Regions from separate parts of the Homo sapiens genome. Here regions 1, 3 and 4 are each linked to region 2. Evidence: promoter capture Hi-C in human tissues and cell types (Jung and others, 2019). All regions are on one chromosome and are shown on one strand. The core of a region is centred on a gene start or on the middle of the fragment in contact, and the rest is flanking DNA. Distances in the headings are between cores, read along the strand shown.

The links. The method cuts DNA at HindIII sites, captures the fragments that hold promoters and counts their contacts. A contact is called where the count stands out against the background at its distance.
Region 1: a contact is called between a fragment that was not itself captured here and the fragment with the promoter of SH3D19 in region 2, in 2 of the 25 tissues and cell types used here (aorta and hippocampus).
Region 3: a contact is called between a fragment that was not itself captured here and the fragment with the promoter of SH3D19 in region 2, in 2 of the 25 tissues and cell types used here (hippocampus and stomach).
Region 4: a fragment that was not itself captured here is called in contact with the fragment with the promoter of SH3D19 in region 2 in 2 of the 25 tissues and cell types used here (mesenchymal stem cells and mesendoderm cells).

Annotation. Positions count from the first base shown.
Region 1 is chr4:151,227,494-151,230,193 of GRCh38, forward strand. All of the region lies in intron 1 of SH3D19 (SH3 domain containing 19), which reads right to left. Among named protein-coding and RNA genes, the nearest start is that of PRSS48, 48 kb to the right of the region's middle. The HindIII fragment of the contact is 5,786 bases long and covers 1-2,700 here.
Region 2 is chr4:151,324,202-151,326,968 of GRCh38, forward strand. It overlaps SH3D19 (SH3 domain containing 19), which reads right to left and starts at 1,404. Exons shown (of 20, transcript NM_001378122.1): 1 at 1,040-1,404. The coding sequence starts at 1,151. The HindIII fragment of the contact is 31,894 bases long and covers 1-2,767 here.
Region 3 is chr4:151,206,337-151,209,036 of GRCh38, forward strand. The region is part of intron 2 of SH3D19 (SH3 domain containing 19); the gene reads right to left. Among named protein-coding and RNA genes, the nearest start is that of PRSS48, 69 kb to the right of the region's middle. The HindIII fragment of the contact is 4,994 bases long and covers 1-2,700 here.
Region 4 is chr4:151,438,343-151,441,062 of GRCh38, forward strand. All of the region lies in intron 1 of FHIP1A (FHF complex subunit HOOK interacting protein 1A), which reads left to right. Among named protein-coding and RNA genes, the nearest start is that of FHIP1A, 31 kb to the left of the region's middle. The HindIII fragment of the contact is 5,665 bases long and covers 1-2,720 here.

The sequences.
Region 1 (2,700 bases), core at 116-2,615, 97 kb before region 2:
GTATTACTGCAGCTTTTAAAACTTTTCTGTTTTAATTTAACTTGGTTTTACCCCTCCCTTAAATGAAAATATCATGTTTTTCATTTGATGAGTATTAAGATTTTAAAGTCATAGTAACGCAGGGCACATTTAAATCATTTCTCTCAATCATTCTCCAGTTTTTAGCCTGCTAGCTTCGCTACAAAAATGAAGTATAATGTCTCAAAGTAAAGCCAGAAACTGAATACAGATTAGCTATCCTCATATAACAAAGCAACAACTCTTACCTGTGGCTAAAGCCGAGCTAAAACTCTGTCCAGAACATCATTTCCTGTGGCTGTGATCCTAGTTACATAGTTTACTTAGGCATGTAATAGCAAATTTCCCCACTAATCTTCCTAGTGGTACAACACACAAGAGGAAGGGAGAAACAGAGTCACGATGCATGTAAACAAGACTCAGTATCCAAGGGCTTCCCTCCAGGGCCTGTTCTGATTGGCAGATGTGCTATGACCAGTCTGCACAGCTGGAATGTGGCCACTCAGGAAGCAAATGGCTCACAGCTCTCCTTCGTTCTTGGTTAAAACAGGAAATTCTACAGTCATTTTTATACTTTCTGCTCTAAGAAAATACAAATGTCTTCTCATAGCACTTTTCTATTGAACCAGTAATTAAAATTCAACAAAAGACTTGATTATCTGCTGGGGGAAATTTTAAAATTTTCCCCCCAAATTCACTATTAGTGTTATCTGTGTTACATTCCTGTGTAAATATAGATACGCAGTACTTATAAAATGTTACTCCTAAGAATTCACATAGTTGATAATTTGAGGGTAAGGGTAAATTATCCATTACTCACAATATTTCCCATCCCTCACCTCTTGACCATGAAAAACAAATTGAAACACATGTTCTTGGCTTGATCTTTTCCCTCAAAGTATACAAATATTTGGATTTCACATTTTGCCATAAAGCCATCTTTTAGCTTAAATACATATAAATAATGGGGTGTGTGTTGCGTATCTGTGTGTCTTATATACTTATACTTTTTCATATACTTACATTTTAAAGTAATTTTCATGATAGTCAAGATTATTGTGCAATTGTCAAGAAATATATTAGTAGAAATAAATTTTTTGGCAAAATAATAAGTGGTTATTATTTTGTTCCAAAAGCCAAGACTGAACAAAACAAATCACTGAGGGTGGATTCAGAATCTGCTTTCTTGCCAACAATAACAAAACATTTGGATGAAAGCCCAAGAATGAGAACAGATCTATAGCAAACATGGAAATTTAATCTTGGCTATATATAGTGCTTTAAGTGTATGGATTTTATTTTAAATCAAATACTCTTCAGCACATTCTCTGAATTTTTTCTTTTCTTTTTTTTTTTCTTTTGAGACAAGGTTTCGCTCTGTACTCCAGGCTGGAGTGCAGTGGTGCAATCACAGCTCACTGCAGCCTTGAGCTCCTGAGCTCAAGTGATCCTCCCATCTCAGCCTCCCAAGTAGTTGAAGTAGTTAGGATTACAGGCACATGCCACCACGCCTAGCTAATTAAATTTTTTTTTTTTTTTTTGTAGAGACAGGGTCTCCCTATTTTGTCCAGGCTGGTCTCAAACTTCGGGACTCAAGCGATCCTCCTGCCTTGGCCTCCCAAAGTGTTGGGATTGCAGGCATGAGCCACTGTGCTCAGCCTTCCAATTTTTTAGTTTCTAATTTTCAAATTAATTGGGGGAGAATATTTCTAAAGGTTTTCTGAACTTCTGCATATTTAGAAATCATATGAATAACTTTCTAGCCCAAAGTCTCATCATTTCTATGAAAAAAAGAGTTATTAAAAATAAAATGCCTTAACTCTAAAATTTGCCAAATGCTACACATTTGCTGTGGATGATATACTTATTCCAGGGGCCTGCCCAGCAGAGCATGATGGTTTAGGTCACTCAAAGACCAGCAGTATATACTCAGTGTGAGGGTAACCATGGCTGGGTAACCATGTAATGGTTTTATAGATATGTATCACACACACACATACACACACACACCCCGCTCTTCCATTCCCTGTCCCTCTCATCCATGCCTCATGGTTAATAAGGCTAACTGAGGAATAGAAAAGTACTCTGTAAGTAGAACAAAGACAGAAAACAAGGCAGAGGCTGGGTGCAGTGGTTCACACCTGTAATCCCAGTACTTTGGGAGGCCGAGGTGGGTGGATCACCTGAGGTCAGGAGTTTGGGACCAGCCTGGCCAACATGGCAAAACCGCATCTCTACCAAAAGTACAAAAAAATTAGCTGGACGTGGTGGTGCACGCCTGTAATCCCAGCTACTCTGCGGGCTGAGGTGGGAGGATCACTTGAGCTCGGGAGATGAAGGGTGCAGTGAGCCAAAATCACGCCACTGCATTCCAGCCTGGGTGACGGAGTGAAACTCTGTCTCAAAAACAAAAACAAAAACAAAAAACAAGGCAGAGCTGGCACAAAGACTATTGGTTGTGTGTGTATAAATGCTGTGGGGGAGATGTGAGGGATGCAATGGGGGAACCCATGGTATGTCAAGGGGACTGAAGAACAGTTAGGGGAGTGGTGGGATGCTATCATGGGTCAAGGATTCTGTGTAAGAACTCCAGATTATCCACATTTTCCTTTCATGTCAACTTGGTTCTATGTAATCTAGACATATGATTCCAATGTTTATGTATTTAGGTGTTACGCCACT
Region 2 (2,767 bases), core at 154-2,653:
TCAAGTTTTCCTTTCATCCTACTTTCTACCCTCCATTTGTTCCGCACAGATACAATATCTTCTCTATTTTTCCAACTTTCTCTTAGTGGTTAAGGGAGTCACACAGAAAAGCTTCTCCACTTCATGGAATATTCGCTATATTCCACTTTATAATGAGGCTCTCAGTGAATCGTTCTCCTCCGACTCTCTCACTTCCCTATCTCCCTTTTGTTGCCAGTCCCCCTAGGTTTGTTCTTCCCTCTTGTTTTCAGATAACTCGGATTACCCAGTTGGAACCAAAGGCCAAAGAATGTCCTCTCTATTATGTTTGATTGAAAAGCCGCCCGGAAGAGGGAAGGGGTGTGGATCTACACTTATTCACTCTTTCACTAATGTGCCAAACTATTTGATCCGTGCCGCTTTTGTGTACCCAAAACACAGTATCATAAAAGTAATTACAGGCCCGAAAATGATTCTCAGCCCAAATGAATGGCCTTTTGGAATGCTATATTCTGGACTTCTCTTTGCGTGGGGGAGGGTCTCACAACTAACGAAAACAAGTCCTACAGAAAACTGGTGAGCTCGGCGGCTGGGGGAGGGAGGGAGGGGGGTCACAGGTCCGAAGTGCAAGGGACGCCGAAACAGGACTTGCCTCAGTTATGAGCACGTGCTCTGACCTGGCTGCGGCGGCGCAGGCAAACCCCTCGGAAGGTGTCGTTGTCCACCGAGACGGCCATTGACCTCTGACTCATCCAGAGATAAGTCATCAACCAGGCCACAAGTCCCAAGCCAGCAGCTCCTGGATTTAGTGTGCACGGAAAATTTGAGTTTCAGCTGTACGACCACTAGCAGTTAAAGACGGGTCTGAATTTCCTCGGGCTCGGCCGGAAAGTGAGGATGGCGATGGAAATGCCACCCTCCCCGAGTCTGGCCTCTGAGAGTTAAAGAAGCCGGTCCCATCCCGGCGCGTGAAGGAGCTGCCGCTGTGTGGGGCAGGACCCGAGCGGCCCCAGAGCGCGCAGCTCTGGGTCCCCGCCGCCCCGTCCCCCGCGCCTCTCACCTGCGGCCGAGTGGCCCGAGAGCGCACGGCCCCGGGCGCGGCGCTGGCCACCAAGTTCGCGGCGCTCGCGTAGCTCTTCCTCCTCGTCCTCCCGCCGCCGGCCCTCAGCCATGGGCGAGGCGCGGGGCGCAGCCGCGGGATGGCCAGCGAGCTGCGGCCCCGGCGCCCCAGAACGCCTGCACCCGGCGCCCCACGCCACCGCCCTCGGGCCGGGGGGAAGGCGGCTCCCGGAGAGGAGGCGTCGGCGGCGGCTGTGGAAATGGCCACCTCCGCGAACTCCACCTGCAGCCGGCCGGGCAGCGGCAGGGCGCGGGCCGAGCCGATTCCCCGCCTCCTTGCGGCGTCCCGGCGGCCTCTTAATCCCTGGCCTTTCCCACTCCCACTCCCGCTCTCTTCCCCCTTCCTCTTTGCCTTCCCCGCCCCGTAGAGCTCCACCGCGGATCGGGCGGGTTCGGGGCTGGCCTCGCCTCCTCAGGGAGGGGTTATCGGCCCCTAAGGCCGCCCCACAGCCACACACGCTGGAAACACCAGCTCGACCCAAACAAACGTGTGCAAAATAAATAAACGGGATAGGAAGAGGGGAAAGAGGAGGTGGCCTGGCCTCTTCCTGCCTTTTCACGATATTCCAGTGTCAACAGGAAACCCATTTGTTTGACACTTAAACAAAAAGAGGAGGAACCCGACCGGGGCCGAACTGGGAGAGATGGGACAGCTGGGAGCTGCTGAACTTTGGAACAAACTTGGCTTGGAGTTGGGTCGAGCCTCTGCAATGCACACTTTTTTCTTTCCCTCTCTTTTCGCCCTTAAAAACCTAGACTTGCGGGAGCACAGAGGATTTTTAGGGCAGTGAAACTACTATGCGTATGATTCTGTAATAGCGGATGCCTTTGTCCAAGCCCAAAGAATGTACAAAACCAAGAGTGAACCGCAATGTAAACTATAGACTTTGGGTGATTATGAGGTGTCAATGTGGGTTCATCAATTGTAGCAACTGTGGCACTCTGGTGGGGGATGTTGATAATGGGGGAGGCTATGCATGTGTGGGAGCAGGGGGTACATGGGAAATCTCTGTACCTTTAGCTCAATTTTGCTGTGAACCTAAAACTGTTCTTAAAAATAGTCTAGTAAGACTGGAAGCGGTGGCTCATGCCTGTAATCCCAGCCCTTTGGGAGGTCGAGGCGGGCAGATCACGAGGTCAGGATATCGAGACCATCCTGGCTAACACGGTGAAACCCCGTCTTTACTAAAAATACAAAAAAAAAAAAAAATAGCCAGGCGTGGTGGCGGGCGCCTGTAGTCCCAGCTACTCGGGAGGCTGAGGCAAGAGACTGGCCTGAACCCAGGAGGCAGAGCTTGCAGTGAACGGAGATCGCACCACTGCACTCCAGCCTGGGCAACAGAGCGAGAGTCCTTCTCGAAAAAAAAAAAAAGTCTAATAAAAATGTTTAATAATAAATCAAGCCTCACTGTATTCCAGTTCATTTAGGGCTAGGATATGGCTACAATTCCTAGAAGAACAGGAAGAAATGTGTTAAAGAGACCCATACGTGATTATTTGTAGAGAGGCAACTAGGGGAAGTGGAGAGACCACTGGCTCTGGAGTCAGAAACTGTAATTTGAAGCACTTAGCTGTGTGAGCTACCCCTAAGAAAGTTTTTCAAAGCTGGAAAGAACCGTGTAACCAAAGTTGTGTGTACCTGCACAATACACATCTTAGGTTCAGTAGG
Region 3 (2,700 bases), core at 115-2,614, 120 kb before region 2:
TTTGCCTTTTGTTGATGAAAGAAGACAAAACAATAAAGTCTTCTATTACTCACTGGCATAGATCTGATGTCAGTGTTCATAAGACAAGCAATACACTTCCCTCTTCATACAACATATTATATGGCATGGCTTTTGTTTCTCCATAAATACTGTAAAGTACTACCCTACTCTATTTTCTCAATATATTCATGGCACCCTAATCTATATGGAAATAAATTCTAGAATCAAGGCTATAGTTTTGGTAGTCCTAAAACCAACATGAGTATGTTAGGTATGTGACTTTCATTTCTAAATTACGGTATTGTTATCATTATTTCCTCTAATGGTATTGCATTGACTTGTGAGGTTAAAACAACTGAAACCCCTTTAAACTTGAATTAAATTAAAGGGGTTTTTATTATGAGCATACAAAGGTATCCTGGGAATGGGTATGAACAGGAAGTGCAGCTGAACTTTGGGCAGTGCTGGGAAACAAGGCAGCTTCTCGTGCATGCTCTCATTCTTCCTCACTTTCTCTTTGGGACTACATCACCTCCGCTTCAGTTTTTGCAGTCTTCTCTTGAACTCCCTGCTCATTCACTGGCATACCTGGCCAGTGTTCATCAGCATGCATATCCTACCAAGCCCAAATCTAAATAATTTTAAACCTCCAGAAACCATGGCTGTCAGCTCTGTCTTTTAGTTTAAACTTTCATGAGAAAAAACTTGATTAGCATACCTTATAGGATAGAGTTCTATCAGCTATGGCCAAATGGGGTAGGACCACGTGGAAACCTGGCCATAGGTGCCTTTCTTTCAGCTGAGACTGGAGGCTTGGGAGGCAGTTCTCAGGGATGCATGAGATAAGATTTAGTAGCAGTGCATCACCACCTCATCGTTCAAAGCTATGGAAAAAAACTAAACACTGAAATGCAGGCCTAGAGAATCTACAAGAGGAACAATTACAGGAGTTGTTTCCAGAGTGATTGGTAAAAGCTTGAAACCCAAGGCCACCAGGAAGTATCCTAACAGTTTATCATGCTTTTACCATTAGCTATTTTACTTCTGAGTGGCCTATCTTTTCCTACTTTGAGTTAGAGGGCAAAGAAGACATCCTGCATTCAGAATGAGAGGAGATTAGGTTATGCTCAAAGAAATGCAATGAGCTTCCCTAAAGGAAGTTGATCACTGTGTGGAAAAATTAGCACTAGTGAAAAGAGAGGACCAAATCTGTATCTTTTCTTCAGGTAGCCAAAGGTAATATTTTGCCACTATGACAGAGGCCTGTGGGACTACTCAACAGTTCCTATCAACTCCAGACTTTACCAGTTCATACAAAGCAGGCATATGTAACAATAGTGTGCTTCTCCAAGCACGAAGGGATAGCACAAATGTATAAGAGCAAATACCGCCTGGATCAAGGTGTTTATGCAGATGCTGGCTTATGCTCCTTCACAGAATCCCACCATGACCACACACCCTGGCTTGAGTTGAGAGAATTCTTTAGGACAATAATAATGCAATTGTAGTTTCTTATGACAAAACTAACAAACATCAAACTGATATGTCAGAAAGAACTTCTGGGTTACAGAGACTTGAAGAGCCCTGACCTTGAAAAGCAGAGATAACACTGAAAATCATTTCCAAGTGGGTTTAGCCTGCTTAACTGAGGTCCAAAGCAACTGTGATAATCAATTTGATGTGTCAACTTGGCTAAGCTACAGTCTCCAGTTATTTAATCAAACATTAATTTACACGTCACTATAAAGGCATTATGTCAGTGTGATTAAAGTCCACCAGTTGATGGGACTTTATCAGGGTATAGTATGGGAGATTATTCTATGAAATCTGTGTGGGCCTGATTTAATCAGTTAAAAAGCCTTAAGAGCAGAGCTGAGGCTTCCATAATGAAAAGAAATTCCACTTGTGGATGGCAGCTTCACTCCATGGGTGAGAGTTCCAGCCTGCCCTTCCTGATGGCCTGCCTTACGAAATTCTGACTTGCCTAAATCAGCTCCAACAATCACATAAATATTTCCCTGCAATAAATCTTTATCTCTCTCTTTTTTTTAAAGATGGAGTTTCACTCTTGTTGCCCAGGTTGGAGTGCAAAGGTGCAATCTTGGCTCACTGCAACCTCTGCCTCCTGAGTTCAAGAGATTCTCCTGCCTCAGCCTCCTAGGTAGCTGGGATTACAGGCATGCGGCACGAAACCTGGCTAGTTTTTTGTATTTAGTAGAAATGGGGTTTCACCATGTTTGTCAGGCTGGTCTCCAACTCCTGGCCTCAGGTGATCCACCTGCCTTGGCCTCCCAAAGTGCTGGGATTACAGGCATGCACCACTGTGCCCGGCCCCAGGAAATCTCTTTTTTTTTTTTTTGAGATGGAGTCTTGCTCTGTCACCCAGGCTGGAGTGCAGTGGCATGATCTCAGCTCACTGCAAGCTCCGTCTCCTGGGTTCACGCCATTCACCTGCCTTAGCCTCCCGAGTAGCTGGGACTACAGGCGCCCACCACCACGCCCGGGTAATTTTTTGTATTTTTAGTAGAGACGGGGTTTCACCGTGTTAGCCAGGATGATCTTGATCTCCTGACCTTGTGATCCGCCCGCCTCAGCCTCCCAAAGTGCTGGGATTACAGGCTTGAGCCACCATGCCCGGCCAGTAAATCTCTTTAATATACATCTCCTACTGGTCCTGTTTCTCTGGTTGAACCCTGACTG
Region 4 (2,720 bases), core at 97-2,596, 110 kb after region 2:
CTTGGCTCACTGCCTGGCCTGCAGGATTCAGGCAGTGGACATACTAGTAACCTAGCGGGGCACCTGTCACACTACACTAACCAGAAAAAGGATTTAATTCTTTTCATTGTATTTCTCTCTCCCTTTCCCTCATCTGAAAACCAAAAGTATGGGATTTGTTTAACTAAAAAACAAAAAAACAAAACAAAACAAAAAAATCTACCTCACCAGAATTATTTATTTATTTATATTAGATTGGTGCAAAAGTAATTGCGGTTTTTGCCTTTTTTTTTTTTTTTTTAAAGGCAAAAATTGTGATTACTTTTCACCAACCTAATAGACAAGAATCTGGCCCTGTTACCCAGGCTGGAGTGCGGTGGCATGATCATAGCTCATTGCAGCCTCCAATTTCTGGGCTCAAGTGATCCTCCCACCTCAGCCTCCCTAGTAGCTGTGATTACAAGTACACACCACCGCACCTGGCTAATTTTTAAAATTCTTTGTAGAGAATGGGGTCTTGCTGTGTTGCTCAGGCTGGGCGTGAGCTTCTGTCCTCAAGTGATACTCCCACCTCAGCCTCCGGAATTTTGTTTAAAAAAGAAAGGTTACGTTAGGGTCTTGAAAGTGTCTTTTGAAGTAGTATGTAGTTGAAAACATATCTTTAAGGACACTTTATTGAATTAATGAAACACCCGTGTACTCAGCATAATACTGATTATATTATATAGTTTCAAGTTTTCTTTTATTTTAAAGCATGTTTTCTTCAAATGAAGCTTAAACGGTTGCGTTTTCCACATATAAATATGTTTCAATTCTGGTAGACTCAGATGAAAAATCTAGAACCTAGTTTCCTAATTAACAATAAAGATTGTGCTATATGAAGTTATGCATAAATAATTAAAAGAGGATGGCTTGGCATTAAAAGGACTGACTCCAGAGTCTTCCTTGGGGAAGGGTTGTTGTGGGGACTAAAGGAGTTTATTATTTATGACAAGTATTTAGAATAGTGTCTGACACAAAGTAAGTGCTATATAAGTGTTTGCTGTTTTTATTATTGCTATTATGTGGCTTAAGCCATTTATTTGTATAATTTTAAAAAGTTTTTTTTTTTCATTACCTTACCCCTAGAAGGATTTGAGCCTCTTCCAAAGCAACTGAAAGGGCTTCTGCTTTCAGTAGAAGTTAATGAAAAGCTAGAGTTTTGGAACTCCCCCTTCTGCCCCAGCTGTCTTTTGTTCTAAGATGAAGTTTCTTAAATTTGGTGGTTCTACATTTTCTCCTCTGTAACATGATGGTCTAAGTTGACATCTGTAAGATGACAGTTCCAAGTTCTGATATCTTTTCAAGCCACAACAATTCTGTGACTCTTTGATCTTACCTTCTGCTTAAGCAAGAATGTTAGGGTTATTCCTTTAGAATTTTAGAACTGGAAAAGGCATTAACCAAACACTCCACTCTCTGGGGAACTCATCACTTCTCCTAGCTTCATTTAGTTTTTGTTGTTGTTTTCTTATAAATTACTAGCAATCTTTGTTCTTCCTTTTATGTATTTTTCTAAAGCACTTTTTACATACTGTATAATGTATTTAGTTATTACGTTTATTGTCTCTATCTCCATGTTGAATGTAAGTGTATTAGTCCGTTCTCACATTGCTATGAAGAAATACCCAAGACTGGGTCATTTATAAAGAAAAGAGGTTTAATTGACTCACAGTTCTGCATGGCTGGGGAGGCTTCAGGAAATTTACAGTCATGGCAGAAGACACCTATTCACAGGGCAGCAGGAGAGAGAATGAGTGCCAGCAGGGGAAGTGTCAGACACTTATAAAACCATGAGATCTTGTGAGAACTCACTCACTATCATGAGAACAGAATGGGGGGGAACTGCCCCCATGATTCTGTTACCTCCCACTGGGTCCCTCTCATGACATGTGGGGATTACGAGTGTTACAATTCAAGATGAGATTTGGGTGAGGACACAGCCAAACCATGTCAGTAAGCTTCATGAAAGCAGGGGTCTTTGTCTTTTTTGTTCAGGTGCCTGACACATAGTAGGTGCCAAGTAGGGGCTCAAAAATATTGTTGGATGAACAAACAAATAGATTTTCAATTGTCTACTGGACAATTTCTAGTAGCTAGTCATCTCCAGTTCTTTTCTGAAGCAACTATCTTTCATGATTTTTCTTATCTCCACCAATGACACTACCTCCATGTTGTCAAGAGCAAACTCCTAGAGAAGTTGGCAGCCACACCTAGAACAGAAAAATTCAGTGATTTTCAAGGGGATTTAGGATAGTCACCACCATCATGGCCCTGGGTACACAAACAGTAGCAGTACAGTGTCACACAAGGTAGATGGAGCTGAATCTTCTCAGAGAACTGGGGGTAACTGGCCAACTGCCCAGGAAATTGCTTCAAGTTACCAAAATTTATTACAAAATCATAGCTTCTGTTGGGTATGCCTGATATGCTTCCTCTGTCATGTTAGTTCCATTGGAGATTCCTTATTGCTTCCAAGCAAATTCCCAGTTTTTGCAGCTTGGCATCCAGTTCCATCTCACACTAGTGCCCCTTGTCAGTTATCTGCTCAGCTGAGGCCTCCTCCTTAGTGTCGCCGAATGCAGTCCTGCTTCTGCTTTAAATCCCCTCTGTTCACTAGGCTGTTTTTCTTCACCCATTCAAATCCAACTTTTCTAATTGACTACGCCAGCTTCTCAGCCCTCACTTGCATGAAGCCCCCC